Linked DNA regions of Homo sapiens: region 1 is linked to region 2. The links are contacts of gene promoters, found by promoter capture Hi-C in blood cells and fetal thymus (Javierre and others, 2016). All regions are on one chromosome and are shown on one strand. The core of a region is centred on a gene start or on the middle of the fragment in contact, and the rest is flanking DNA. Distances in the headings are between cores, read along the strand shown. Region 1 overlaps HGSNAT (heparan-alpha-glucosaminide N-acetyltransferase). Region 2 holds the start of POMK (protein O-mannose kinase).

Region 1 (2,700 bases), core at 50-2,549, 100 kb after region 2:
AAGAGGGGGTGGAGGAAGAGGAGGAGGAGGAAGAAGAGAAGGAGGGTGTGGAGGAGGATGGGGTGGAGGAAGAGGAGGAGGAGGGGCTGGAGGAGGAGGAGGGTGAGGGTGTGGATGAGGAGGAGGAGGGTGTGGAGGAGGAGGAGGAAGAGGAGGAGGGGGTAGAGGAAGAGGAGGAAGAGGAGGAGGAGGGGTAGAGGAAGAAGAGGAGGAGGAGGGTGTGGAAGAGGAGTAGGGGTCGGTCTTGCTGTCTCAGGGGTAACAGAGGCAGAAGAGAATCCGCATATAAGTGGACCTGCGCAGTTCAAACCTGTGTTGTTCAAGGATCAGCTGTACATTTTGGTGATGAAATAATTTTGTATTTAGAAATACGGCCTTTATCTCTGTAGCACTTTCTAGTTGATATTGTGCTTTTCCATATATTCCGTATATTCATGTAATCCCTACATACACTTTCTAGGTAGATCACTGGAGCGGTCAGTCCAGTGGGGAGGCTAGGAGTGCAGACCTGGAGCCACGCTCCCTGGGTTTGTGTCCAGCTCTGCCACTTCCCAGCTGGGTGACCTCGGGCGTGTGGCTGACTCCCTCTTGTGCTTCAACAGCACCTACTTCAGAAGGGTGTTGCAAGGATTGAATAAGTTAATTCATGTAAAGTTCTAAGAACTGGCACATAAAAAATGTTGATTAATATTAGCTATTACTATAAATTATTTTTAAAGCTTCTCATCCTTTGATGTTTTCAAAAATGAATACCTAATTTCAGAGGGATTGTATGTGAAGTCCATATTTCACTGTTTTTAAATGTTTCCCTGCCTCCCCCACCCTGCCTCTGGTTCCACCCTGTCCCGGTCCCTCTTCCTAGTGCTGCCCAGACTGGGTCACCAAACAGGCCTGTCTGACGGAACCCTTGTCACCTTTGTGGAGAATTCTCTTTGGGCCCTGCCTGGAAGTAAGAGCCACGGAGCCTGCCCAGGTGCCCCTTCTCCTCCTTTCCCCATGACCTGGGCTTCTGCATTCCCTGCAGCAGTGGAGATGTGGTGTGGCTACCATGCTTCCCCCGAGCTCTGTGCCTGCTGCCCCATTCTGCTCAGGAGCCTCTTCCTGCGGGGACCCTCTGGTGCTCTGGCCTCACCTCTGTGGCTCGTCCTCTCTGATGCCTCCTCCTCCCCAGAGAGGGCGTTCATCTCTGGTCCCATGCTCCTCTGTTAGTCTCCACTAGTCAAAGGCAGAGGTGATGTTTCCCGCCTCCCTGTAATCCCAGCACCTAGTAGCGTGCCCAGCAAGTGAATCTCTTTGTCAGGTAGTTAAGACAGTGGATTAATATGAAATAAAAATATCCCTTTGGCGATTCTTTTGGTCACACTGTGTTATCTCCTCCAGGCAGGAAAAATACTATTGTATTACAAGGCTCGGACCAAAGACATCCTGATTCGATTCACTGCTTGGTGTTGTATTCTTGTAAGTAAGCAGCATTCCTCGCTAAAATTCCTTTCCTTCACATGTATAGATATTTAAAAGGAATAAAATGTTTAGCAACACTGAGCTAGCCATTGTCACCACATGGCAGCAGGTACCATTTTCTTCACTTGAATAACAGAGAGGAACAAATCTTTCCACCTAAATGCACAGATTTATTTTCTTAGGAAAATGTCTTTATCAATAAGGCAGTGTTTGCCATCAGATAGCCAGGAATGCCTGAAGAAATGTGAGGTATGGGCTCTGTGTGGAGAGGCGTATCAGAGAGACTGGGCAAATCAGACCAGGTTGCAGACATCAACTTCCAGATTATATGGGAAAGAGAGTTGCAAGGTTGACTGTTTGTTCATTTCATCCTGACCGCAGCCATGCCTCCTCTTCAGAGTCACTGTCATTTAATCAGTAAGCTTACCCTCTTCAACTCAGTAGAATGGTGAAGAGATTTTGGGAGAGTATTTTTCAGTTCATACATTTAAAAAAATATGTTTCCATTTAAAAGAGAAAAATATAAGGCACAAGTTTCAGCCCTCTCTACGTGATTAAATAACTAATATATATTGGTGTTGAAACCAAGTGTTTTCTGAGATAATAATATAAAATGTTAACATCCTTCTCTTCCCCATTACAGGGGCTCATTTCTGTTGCTCTGACGAAGGTTTCTGAAAATGAAGGCTTTATTCCAGTAAACAAAAATCTCTGGTATGTATGGAAAAAGCATGATTTTATGGATGACTGTTCATGCTGAAATTGGATTTGTTCCGTACGAGCACTGAAACGTCTCCTCCACCCCTCCCAGGTCCCTTTCGTATGTCACTACGCTCAGTTCTTTTGCCTTCTTCATCCTGCTGGTCCTGTACCCAGTTGTGGATGTGAAGGGGCTGTGGACAGGAACCCCATTCTTTTATCCAGGTAAGTCACCTCCAACCTCAAACAGAGCTGGGATGGTGACCAGGAGGCAGGCCCAGGGACCTCTGGAGCATCCTTGGTGCTGGGGTCTTGAGCCACTGCCCTAGCGGCAGGTGTCCAAAAGCCAGGCTGAGGGAGGAAGCAGCAGGGCCCACATTGTCCCAGCCCACACCAGATGTCACTGGCCTGCTCCAGAGCAGTCCACCCCATTTTCACCGTGTAGGTTGTGGAGTCGTTGTATGACAGTTTGTGACTCCACCTGTTTCTTCAGGCTATACCAAATTGTGGAGGAGCGGAAATGATTCAGGGCACATTATC
Region 2 (2,700 bases), core at 167-2,666:
ACTGTTGTGCAACCATCACCCCCATCCATCTCCAGGACTTTACCATCTTCTCACACTGAAACTGTGCACCCGTTAGTATTTTTCATGGCTATGTGGATGTAATATAATTTCTTTCAGAAACCCCTATTGTTATACATTCAGGTTTCTTTTTTTCTCTATTATAAATATCTTTTATCAGCAATGCTTCAGCAAGATCTCTTGTGCATACATCTTGCAGACATATTATTTCTTTTTCTTTTTTTTTTTTTTTTTTTTTGAGACGGAGTCTCGCTCTGTCACCCAGGCTGGAGTACAGTGGCGCGATCTCGGCTCACTGCAAGCTCCGCCTCCCGGGTTCACGCCATTCTCACGCCCGCCACCATGCCCGGCTAATTTTTTGTATTTTTAGTAGAGACGGGGTTTCACCGTGTTATCCAGGATGGTCTCGGTCTCCTGACCTCGTGATCCGCCCACCTCGGCCTCCCAAAGTCCTGGGATTACAGGCATGAGCCACGGCGCCCGGCCACAGACGTTATTTCTGAAGGATAAATTCCTAGAAATGGATTTGCTAGGGCACGTAGGAGGAATTCCAATTTACACTCACTTGTATGTGTGAGGAAACTTTCAGACTCTACTGTAACGACAGGAGGTATTACCGCTGTTTGTCCATGTGATAGGCAAACGTTTCTGTTAATTTTAATACTGTTTGGATAGCTAGTACCGGCTCAGTTTTTTTAACCCACACCATGTTACTGTCTTGATTCTGGACTTTCGCAGTGTGTCAGTGTAGAAGCAGCTAACGCTTCCGATGTACACAACCTAGACGTTCCATGACCCAGCTGACTTCGATGCTGCAAGCCTCCCTTTCGGTTTCCCGGAGCAAGCGCCCGAGTGCGTGTTGGGCTCCCGGCAGGGCTCCTGGCCGGCCCTCGACGGACTTCCCCGCCTTTGCCCAGTCCTGCCCCTCCGCGGAGGCTTGCCAAGGTCTTGTCTGCTGCGCTTGATGTGTGCAGCTCAGCTTTACTGCGTCTAGGCTAAGCCCCACAGTTTCTTTTACAGAGCGATTGTCCAACTTCAGGCATCTGGGTCCCCGAGTGGCGGGTCTGGGCCGGAGCTGGGAATCAGCCTTTCCAGCAAGGTCCCTGCAGATGCCGCGGGTCTGAGGACTACGCTTTGGAAGGCCTCGCAGTGCGTCTAGATCTGACAGCTGCTCTGCATGAGCCTGGCTCCAGGCTGAAGCAATAGTCGGTCAACACAAAATCGTTCTCCCAAGTTAGGGAAGCAGAAGCCAGACAGGGAGACTGGGTAGGTGCGCGCTGGTACCGCCGCGGCGTTCGCTCCGGCTTCAGTGCACGGCCGGAGGAGGACGCCAGGGGGCAGCAGCGCCACGCTCACCCGCCCAGGACGCGCTTCCGAACGCGCAAGCGCAGTAGGCCCAGTGCGTGCTGGCCCGGGGTGGCAGGAGCCGCAGAGGCTTGGGCTGCAGGTAGGTGCTGCGGCGAGGGGTGAGAGGGCGAAGGGGCGAGGGGGCGTGCAGCTGGGTTTCCCGGGGGACCCTGTACGTGGCCTGGGCCGCACCCCCCGCAGCCCCGGCCGCCTGCCCGCGGCCTGTCCGGAGGCTCCCTAGGAGGCTGCGCTGGGCCTGAGCGGCCGTGTCCACCGCGCCCAGCCCCTATCTCCGCGTCCACCCCTGCGCGGTAGCGGGACGTTAAAGAACCAGAGAAGGGCCCGGCGAGGTGGCTCCAGCCTGTAATCCCAGCGCTTTGGGAGGCCGAGGCGGGAGGATCGCGTGAGCTCAGGCGAGAGCAGCCTGGGCAACATGGCGGAACTTCTGTCTCCGTAAAAAAGCACTTAGCCGGGCGCGGTGGCGCCGCCTATAGTCTTATCTACTCCGGAGGCTGAGGCGGGAGAATGCTTGAACCCGGCGGGGGCGGAGGTTTCAGTGAGCCGAAATCGCGCCACTGCACTTCAGCCTGGGGGCCAGAGTGAGAGGCTGTTTCTATTATTATTACTTTATCATTATTATTATTATTTGAGACGGAGTCTCGCTCTGTCGCCCAGGCTGGAGTGTAGTGGCGCGGTCTTGGCTCCTGGGATTACAGGCGTCCGCCACCACGCCCGGCTAATTTTTGTATTTTTAGTAGAAACGGGGTTTCCCCATGTTGGTCAGGCTGGTCTCGAACGCCTGACCTCAGGTGATCCGCCCGCCTCTGCCTCCCAAAGTGCTGGGATTACAGGCGTGAGCTACTGGGTCCGGCAGAGGCTGTCTCTGTTTAAAAAAACAAAAACCAAACCAAACCAAAACAAAACAAAAAACAAAAAAACCAGAAAGGACCGAGGACTCTGTCTCAGCTCTTTGCCTTTGGGTGTTTATTCTGCACGAGATCATTGTTGCCAGGAGGTGTTAAGTGTAATCATATTCTCTTTTTTTTAGAAAGCAAAATTTCGCTGTTTTGTTGCATAATCTTGTCTTTGCCACCCTTTGCCTTTGCTATAGAACCTTAAGGCTAAATAAGCGTTCAGAATATTTAAAATAATCCTCTTAATGTACCTTGTGCTTTATTGGCGCAATGGAATTCTACTCTAAACTGTATTGGATGACATTACTCTGTGTCTTCCCTAGTTGTAGAAAATATCTTGTAAGTCGGTAAAAACTAGTTTTGTCCCTTTGCTTTTCTTTTCTTTTTAAGCTGTAAATGTGGAGCAGTGGGTCCCAAGCCT

What was found. Contacts are between HindIII fragments. The CHiCAGO score rates a contact against its expected background, and 5 or more counts as called.
Region 1: a fragment that was not itself captured here is called in contact with the fragment with the promoter of POMK in region 2 in 1 of 17 cell types (M2 macrophages); the score reaches 5.2 in M2 macrophages.

The regions. Positions count from the first base shown.
Region 1 is chr8:43,195,568-43,198,267 of GRCh38, forward strand. It overlaps HGSNAT (heparan-alpha-glucosaminide N-acetyltransferase), which reads left to right. Exons shown (of 18, transcript NM_152419.3): 15 at 1,381-1,458; 16 at 2,105-2,175; 17 at 2,273-2,385. Among named protein-coding and RNA genes, the nearest start is that of HGSNAT, 56 kb to the left of the region's middle. The HindIII fragment of the contact is 1,164 bases long and covers 718-1,881 here.
Region 2 is chr8:43,092,099-43,094,798 of GRCh38, forward strand. POMK (protein O-mannose kinase) reads left to right here and starts at 1,417. Exons shown (of 5, transcript NM_032237.5): 1 at 1,417-1,465. RefSeq lists enhancers at 381-1,287, 1,288-2,193 and a silencer at 1,445-1,654. The HindIII fragment of the contact is 4,326 bases long and covers 1-2,700 here.